Linked DNA regions of Homo sapiens: regions 1 and 3 are each linked to region 2. Evidence: promoter capture Hi-C in human tissues and cell types (Jung and others, 2019). All regions are on one chromosome and are shown on one strand. The core of a region is centred on a gene start or on the middle of the fragment in contact, and the rest is flanking DNA. Distances in the headings are between cores, read along the strand shown. Region 1 overlaps ZC3H4 (zinc finger CCCH-type containing 4). Region 2 holds the start of FKRP (fukutin related protein). Region 3 holds the start of NPAS1 (neuronal PAS domain protein 1).

The links. The method cuts DNA at HindIII sites, captures the fragments that hold promoters and counts their contacts. A contact is called where the count stands out against the background at its distance.
Region 1: a contact is called between a fragment that was not itself captured here and the fragment with the promoter of FKRP in region 2, in 1 of the 25 tissues and cell types used here (bladder).
Region 3: a contact is called between the fragment with the promoter of NPAS1 here and the fragment with the promoter of FKRP in region 2, in 3 of the 25 tissues and cell types used here (H1 embryonic stem cells, liver and stomach).

The regions. Positions count from the first base shown.
Region 1 is chr19:47,104,964-47,107,884 of GRCh38, forward strand. The region is part of intron 2 of ZC3H4 (zinc finger CCCH-type containing 4); the gene reads right to left. Among named protein-coding and RNA genes, the nearest start is that of ZC3H4, 7.4 kb to the right of the region's middle. The HindIII fragment of the contact is 3,689 bases long and covers 1-2,921 here.
Region 2 is chr19:46,744,717-46,747,416 of GRCh38, forward strand. FKRP (fukutin related protein) reads left to right here and starts at 1,341. Exons shown (of 4, transcript NM_024301.5): 1 at 1,341-1,374. It overlaps STRN4 (striatin 4), which reads right to left and starts at 1,734. Exons shown (of 18, transcript NM_013403.3): 1 at 1,433-1,734. The coding sequence starts at 1,714. RefSeq lists silencers at 1,280-1,509, 1,720-1,769, 1,780-1,929, 1,970-2,069, 2,110-2,159. The HindIII fragment of the contact is 7,098 bases long and covers 1-2,700 here.
Region 3 is chr19:47,018,460-47,021,304 of GRCh38, forward strand. NPAS1 (neuronal PAS domain protein 1) reads left to right here and starts at 1,378. Exons shown (of 12, transcript NM_002517.4): 1 at 1,378-1,538; 2 at 2,547-2,710. The coding sequence starts at 2,589. RefSeq lists a silencer at 1,315-1,374. The HindIII fragment of the contact is 24,576 bases long and covers 1-2,394 here.

The DNA.
Region 1 (2,921 bases), core at 315-2,814, 360 kb after region 2:
TTCTAATGAATGAAAATCCCTTCCATTTAAGAGGGTTTAAAAGCCTAGGCTTGGGCCTCTACATTCACTGAAAGGAGTGGAACGCAGGGAGAATGGAGCCACAGTGGACTGAGGAAACAGTTAACACCCCCACCCTCTCGAGGGCCAACTTTAAATGGAATATCTATATTCCCTCCTCATTCCTTCCCACCACAAAAAAAATGACAATGGCTGCTGTGCAGGCATACCAGACAGTGCATACCATATCACGTGGTGGGCAGCAACTTTCTACTCAACTCTGCTGCTGTAACGTAGAAGCAGCCACTGATGATATAAATGAATGAGTATGGCTGTGTGCCAATAAACTTTACCTACTGGCCAGGCGCGGTGGCTCATACCTGTAATCCTATCACTTTGGGAGGCCAAGGAGGGTGGATCACTCGAGGTCACGAGTTCAAGACCAGCCTGGCCAACACGGTGAAACCCCATCTCTACTAAAAACACAGAAATTAGCTGAGCATGTGGTGTGCGCCTGTAATCCCAGCTACTCAGGAGGCTGAAGCAGGAGAATCCCTTGAACCAGGAGGCAGAGGTTGCAGTGAGCCAAGATCATGCCACCGCACTCCAGCCTGGGTGACAGAGCAAGATTCTGTCTCAAAACAACACAAACCAACAAAAAAACACTTTACCTACAAAAACAGGCTGGGTGGGCTGGCTTTGGCCCGAGAATCATAGTTTGCCGACCCCTAGCCTGGATGCAACGGCTTTCACACTTTTTGACACTGACCCACATCTGCTTCTTTGCATTTCTCCCAAACAAAAGTTTCCAGAAGCCACATTTAAATGCATTCTGCTTTTTCTCTCCTCTTCCATTTCCTTGGTTTTCCAATGCAAAAGAAAAAGATCAATAATTGGACTTCATATCCCACTAGTGGCTATACCCCACAGTCTGAAAAATAGCACACCAGATCCACCACAGTATAATGGTATGTATAGAGATGGGGTCTGAGTACCAGCCACCCCGGGTTCTAACTCTGCCTGCAGCACACACTTGTTTTGTGACCTGGGACAAGTGACTTCACCTCTCTGTTTTGGTTTCTCCTCAAACAGCAGAGGTAAAGGTTAAATGAGCTAATGCATGAGAAGCACTCAGAAGGGCTCTGGCAGATAATCTTTGACCTTCAGGTCAATTGTGCACAAATGGCACTGTTGCCCCTTCGGAAAGACAAAGACACTGACTTAGGAGATGAACTCAAGAATCACATCCAGTTTGCCTAACTCCCCCAACCATAGCTGTCCACCACCCATCACTCTCAGCAGAGGGCCAATCCCGTGTGGAGAGAACATGGCAGCACCCAGGCAGACATGGTGGCTTATACCTGTAATCCCAGCACTTTGGGAGGCTGAGGTGGAGGATCATTGAAGCCAAGAGTTCGAGGCTGCAGTGAGCTATTAATACTATGAGGTGCCACTGCATTCCAGCCTGGGCAACAGAGCAAAACCCTGTCTCAATAAAAGAGAAAAAACAAAGCTTTTGGCTCTGGAGTTCACTCTATCCTTTCTGGGACAACTGACAGGCATGACCAGGAACCTGATGGGCCTGCCTGTGATCTAGCCACTGAGCCTAACCTTCAAATTAATTAAGGCATCTGCTTTCCAAGTGCATATTAGTAAGCTGCAAGCAGCAGCAGCAACCCTTTATCGTGGCCAGAAACTGTAGAAGGTAGGCCAGACACAGAGGAAGGGAATACGAAGCCTGGTAAAGGCAGTAACAACCCTAGCCCGACTCTAAATAAAGTCTTCATGATAGAAGGGTTCTCTGCACACTCAGAAAACTCTTGGGCTCCAAGAAAAGCCGGGGAGGAACTCAGTTACTGAATGAACAAAACCTTATCTGACTCAGCCAGATCCCAAAGGAGTGAAGAATCCTGGAGCTGGATGAGACCTTGTTCATTCCCCTCTGGAGAGAGTAAAGGACTTGCGTGGGGAAACTGACTAGTTTGCAGTGGTATGAGATTCTAGATCCCTGGCTTCCCAGTTCTCAGAAGCCCTACTGAGACTACAGCACTGACTCGGACTCTAATTGCAAAAGATGAACACAGGAGGTACAGTCAGCATTAAGCTCCAGACAGTATGACCATTTGAGCATCCATAAAAAGACACTGAGCAAGCAAGAAATATCTTAAGATGGCTTCCACTTAGTGTCAACCCCAATTGGCTCCCTGCAATTAAATAAGCTGACCAGAACCCTAAGAGATGAAAGATAAATGCACTTCCTTCAAAAATAGATGTTATTCTTACTTCTGTTTATACACCAACTGTAAAAGTTCTGTTTCAAATTCTTCTCTAGTAGGGAAAGCAGGAAGATTCACTGAATGCTGGCATTGTGTGGGTGTCCCCAAATGCACTCATTTGACCACAAGGACCCTGAGAAGTGGGCATTTTATACTCGATGCCTACTGCACACTGCCGGGGAGAAGCCAGGCCTGAACAGTTTTATCTGGCTCCAAAGTCCACAGTCTTCCTCCACATCCTGTTGCCACCTCCGACATTCAAAAAGATGTCACCACTTGCCTGACAAACAGGGCACTGAGTCACCTATTCACACAGATGCGAAATGGCAAAAAAAATACACGAGAAAGATCCTTTATGCAGACCAGTTTGGCCAGAAGCAGCAAACTATGCTCTCAGCAAATAATCCTGCGTTCTGTTAAGAAAAAAAAAAAAAAAAAGTAACAGGACACAACTAAATCTAGCACCAACCAAGAGGCCGTATCTTCATTTTTGTCAACAACTACTAAGAGTCACCCCAATGGGTGATGTGCCAGAAATCTATTTAAAATAAACTGCCTATCGCACCTCATTACATCACCAGTGAAACTGTACACAATGTCTTCAAAACTGCATCTGCATTAACTCCTAAAAGCAAAAGCGTTCTGCAG
Region 2 (2,700 bases), core at 91-2,590:
TGGGTACCAGCTTCCTACTAGATAGCAAACGGCAAATCGGAAGGGGAAAGGTGGGCTGCTACAAGCAGGTAATGACAATTTCTGCTAATAATAACCCAGTCCAAGAATCTTCAGACTTCCAGCGGGCCATTCCTGATCCCTTCAAATCCGGACATCTCCATGGTCCTCCAGTCACTGCCAATGGACCTGACGCTCCACGAGGTCACAAACCCTAGCCCAACTCCTCAGACTCTTCCATTCAACATCCCTGTCCCAAGCTACCCCAAAAACCACGGGGTCTTTTCCCAAGACTTCCACAAACATATCCCCTTCCCCCCAACCCCAGTCTACCCCCGTTCCGAGATGCCTCCTCATGTTGCCTTCGGGCTCTACAAAATTCTCCCCCCTAAAGCATCACCCCAGGGTAACCCCTAACTCGTCCTCATTGGCACCATCCCAGGACCCTCACCTCCATACTGGACATGCCCAACACCCCACACTCCAGTTCAGGGCTCTCTACCTACATCCTACAACACACGTGCCATCTCAGTGCCATCGCGCCCACTCCTGCACACCCCCAAAGTGGAACTTCCACTCTTAAGCTCTCCCATCCAGGCTCCTAGGGTACATTCCCTGCTCTGTCCACACTTCCACTCCAAAGAACCCTTCCCTGCACTGTGCAGCCACACATGCCCGGGATCCCCAAAGTTTCTCCTCAGAGGGGAAGGCACACACCTTCATCCTGGACCCCTTGAAACCCTCCTCCCACCCCTCGGGTCCTTACACAGCCCTCCTTCCGTGCCCACCGTCCAGTCGCCCCGAAACACACCGATCCCAGGTTCCCGACTTCCTCTCCCTAAATCCTCCCGGTTCCCCATCTGGACCCGCTCTTTCCCAGCGGGTCCCAAGTTCCCCCCTTGGACGCTCCCACCTCCAACCTGCACCTGGCTAGGGCCATGGTCGGGGTCGGGGTCGGGAGTCCCTCGGCGCCCGGCAAGCTTCTGCTTACTCCCACAGGAGACCACTCAGGTCTCCCAGACCCCTCCAGCTCCTCTCCACACCCTTTCCCGAGTTCTCTTAGCCTCCCCTCCAGGGCTCGAGTCGCCTCTCTCAGGAGCCCCGCGGCCAGCGTGCTCAGTCCCAGTCCCAGTCCCACTCCCAGCTGGTTGTGGTCCCTCCGCCCCTTTCTCTCGGCCGGTCCCGGTGATCCCTCCCACCCCCGGTCCCTCCACTCCCACCTCGGGCCGTCCCGGTCCCGTCCCACCCCGGAGTGCCCTCAGGACACCCCTCGGACGGCCCCTCACTCGCCCTCCGGGACCGTCGCGGTCCCCTCCCGCCCCCCCGCCGGCCGTCCCGGCGGCCATTGCTCCAAGATGGCGGCGGCGGCGGCAGCGGGTGAGGCCGGGCCGGGCCGGGCCGGGTTGGGGGTCGGGGGTCCCGGGACAGCGCTCACCTGTAACTCGGCGCGCTCGGCCTCCCAGCGGGCTTTCTCGGCTTCGAAGCGCGCCCACTCGTGCTGGATAAAGTGCAGGATCCCCGGCAGGCTCAGGGGCTCCGGGCCCGCCGTGGGCCCGGGGCTGCCTCCGCCGCCGCCTCCCTTACCTGCCGGGCCCGGCCCGGGGGCAGGGGCGGAGACCGGGGCCGCCCCAGTGGGGCCAGGGCCCGCGCCTGAGCCGAGCGGACGGCAGGAGGAGGCGGCGGCGGCGACCGCGGCGGCCGCTCGCTCCTCCATCATGGAGGCCCCGGGGCCGGCCTGCGCGCCCGCTGTGCCTCGCGCGCCTGCGCGGCCGCGCCAACACCCCCCCCCCTCCCCCGCCGCAACCACCGCGCGCGCGCCCGGCGGGGGACAGTAGGAAGGGGGGCCGGCGGCGAGCGCGAGCCTCGCCCACCCGGGTCTACACCGAAGGGTAGCGTGCCCGCGCGGGGGCCGGCGGGTGGGAGATCGCGCCCCGAGGAGGGCGAGGGAGACCCAGGCCCCGCGCGACGGTCCCCCTCGCTGGAGTGAGACTGAGGAAGGGGCCGCTTTCTGCCCCCCTCCTCCCACTTCGCCCCAGAGAAAGAGCCTTACCCCTTCCACACCCAAACACCACTCTCCTGGACAATTACTTTTACTCTGAGAGAAAGGGCGACCAGCAGTGGCCCCATCCTCTCTGATTGCCGGCCAGGTTGGTTGTCATGGTAACCCTTCCCCAGCGGTGGGGGCGAGGTGGTGGGGAGCAGCCTTCCCCTCGCTTCCACCTTTGTGGTTATGGAGCCCCAAACCTCTTAGGACTCTGCACCAGGAGAAGGTTGCTAAGGTAACCTAAGTGTCCGTGGTGGTCCTTCTGCTCCTATCCTCATTGATTACTATGGCAACCTCCCCCCCACCTAGCATTCAGGTAGAAAGGACCCCAGCCCCAAGGACACTGATCTCTAAGAGAAGCACCTCTTCCCCAGCCCCTCCCCCATAGCCACCTAGTTGGCATTACCATGGTAACCGTCTTCCCCTTCCCATCGTGGGAGGCCCATGCACCAAACTAACCAGGTGTTTTTATTTAGAGGAGATGCTCTGCTGAGGGGCAGTTGCTATGGTTACAGGGCCTGGACCTTCCTCCGGAAGGTGAGAAACAGGCAAGTTCAAGGCCTGGTTACTATGATAATAGAGCAGCCCCCTTCGAGTGACCCTAGGAACCAAGCCCAACAAAGGAGGGGATTTTTTTTTTTTTTTTTTTTTTTGAGACA
Region 3 (2,845 bases), core at 128-2,627, 270 kb after region 2:
CTCGGTTTCCCTAGTTGTAAAATGCATCTAGTAACAGAGCCCATCTCAGAATCTTGCTATAAAATAAAGTATTAGCAAAAAACAAGCACTCCCTTAAGTGTTAACTATGAGGATCATGAATGAGTTTGTGTGTTGTGAGCAAATGCACACGGGTGTTTGTGTGTGCCTCAGTTTCCCCATCTGCCCAACCAAAGGCCAGCGCGTGCTCCCTGCAAGCCCCTGACTGTATGCCTCTTCTAAGACTCCCTGCTCCATTTTCTTTTTCTTTTCTTTTCTTTCGAAATGGACTCTCCTTCTCTGACCCGGGCTGGAGCGCAGTGGCGGGATCTCGGCTCACTGCAACCTCCGCCTCCCAGGTTCAAGGGATTTTCCTGCCTCAGCCTCCCGAGTAGCTGGGATTACAGGCGCCCACCACCACACCCGGCTAATTTTTGTATTTTTAGTAGAGACAGGGTTTCACTATGTTGGCCAGGCTGGCCTTGAACTCCTGACCTCGGGTGATCCAACCGCCCTGGCCTCCCAAGGTGCTGGGATTATAGGTGTAAGCCACCGCGCCCGGCCCCAGCTCCATTTTCTTTCCCCATGTTAAGGTCATGTAGAGGCTTTTAAGTGCCTGGAGACCCCCATGCCAGGGAGGACCCTGAGAACGGGAAGTGGGGGCTGCATGGAGAGAAGGAGCTAGGGGAACTGTAGGACCTCCTATCAGACTGGGGAAGGCCTGGCTTGGACGCCTGGGTTCCCGTCCTCTGTGCGAGGTACTACAACCCCTGAGTTCCCATTTATGATCTAATGGGGAGCTTGGATGTAAGGGTTCCCGTCCCTGCGGCGGGGGATGGAGATAAGACGCCAGGATCCTGGTCTCTGGAGCTCCTTAGAGAGCTGGATCCTGGTCCCTGACGAGGGAGGTGTATGTCCCCCTTTTAAGGCGGGTTGGGTTTGGATGCGAAGTCCCAGCCCTGTGGGGGGAGAGTGTGCTGACACTCAGGAGTTCTCTCCCGGAAAGGGAGGGTCTCGAATTCTGGATTTGTGTCCCTGGAGGAAGCACTGACGTGAGTCTTCACTCGTACATGGGGCTCGGCTGCAGGGTACCTGTCTTGTCCCGAGGGGCTGCTGGGGCACTAACTGCCTCCTGAAGGGGTGTAGACAGTGCCCGGACTCCGCTGTTCCCCTTTTGGAGTGGGGTAGCTCCGATCCGAGGTGCTACATTCTGACCCCCGACGTTACCGTGGGGCAAGGGAACTCGGACCCCAGGGTAGCTTGGCCCCCTACCAGGGAAAGGCGAGCAGGGCGGGTCCGGGGGCGGAGACGCGGCGGGCGGGGCTCCGGCAGACCCCGCCCCCGCCCGCAGCGCTGGTCGCGCGTCTCCAAGTCTGCGAGGCCGAGGTGGGCGCCGAGAGCTGGGCGCCACAGCCCGCGCGTCCCGCTGCGCCCCGCGCGCCCCGGGGTCTATGGAGCTGCCCCTCCGCGCCGCCCGGCCGGCCCCACGCCGCGCCCGGAGCCTGCTCTGCGGCCAAGTAATCGGACTGGCGGTCCTGCGGGTAGGGGAAGCTTGCGGGCTGGCAGGAGGGGGACTTCTGGGTCCCAGAGGAATGGGGGGCTGGAACTCCAGTGTCCTGGGGGATAGGGGGTGGGACGAGGGTATCCCGAGCCTGGGGGAAGGGGCGCACGGATGTTTGAGTCCTGGAGAAATCTGGGGTTGGGAGACCTGGACACGGGGGTCTGGGGCATCTGGACACCTGGCTGGGAGGTTTGGGGGCGGCCTGGTTCCTGGGGTTAGGGGGTGTTCTGAACGCCTGGTCCTGGAGGAATGAAGACCTAACTGAAAACGTTAGGGGATCAGGAGACCAGGACACCTGGGCCCCGAGTGTCGGGTCAATCCTGGGGGCGTCCTGGGGCAGAGGCTGCGGCGGCTGCGTCCGGGGCTGGGGCTCGCGCGCCGGGGTCTTCAGGGAGGAAGTTGTGGTCGTGGGGATGTGGCGGTCCGAACACGTGGCGCCATCCCGAGAGGCTGGGGGGATCCCTGGGCAGGACACAGGATGGGGGTCCCTGCCCTCTGCCCCCTGCCTCCTTAGCCCAGCCGGGAAAACAGGGTGCAGATCCGGGGAGTCAGACACCGGGGATGGGCTTGGGGGGCGGGTCCTCGGGGCAGAGGGCTCCGGGGGCTGGGGCGTGCGTGCCTGGCCCGGGAGGCGCCCGCCCCCCGCCCGGCTTGGGCATGCTTGGCACGCAGCGCGCGGGCCGGTTCGATCCGTATGCGCGCCGCGTGCGCCCATTGGTATGCGGGAGCCGGCCCGGCGCGGGCGTGAGGCGGGCGCGCTGGCGGGCGGCGCGGGGGAGGCGGCGGCGGGGCACGTCCTCACCCGGAGCGCCAGCCCCGGGCCGGCTAGGGTGGGAGCTGAGGCCTCCAGGTAGGGGAAACTGAGGCATCATCCAGGCCCCCCCCCCCCCAGCTCCTTGCTGGGACCCTGAGCCCTGCACGGATCTCAGTTTCCCTAGAAGGTCTCCCGAGGGCACTAAGCGTTGCCCCTGGCCCCCTCCCGCTGCAGGAGACTCGGGGCTCGGAGCCCGCCTGAGCGAGCCCCCCGGAGATGGCGGCCCCCTATCCCGGCAGTGGCGGCGGAAGCGAGGTCAAATGCGTGGGAGGCCGCGGCGCCAGCGTCCCCTGGGACTTTCTACCCGGGCTGATGGTCAAGGCGCCGTCCGGACCGTGGTGAGCAAAGCCCCGCCCCCCTGGCCGCGGGCCCCCCCCCGGGTCCAATTCACACCCGATGTTCTGTCCCCGTGCCAAGGGGCAGTTCACACCCAGCTCCCTGACCCGCCCCTTAGGGCTAGAAGGTCTTACCTT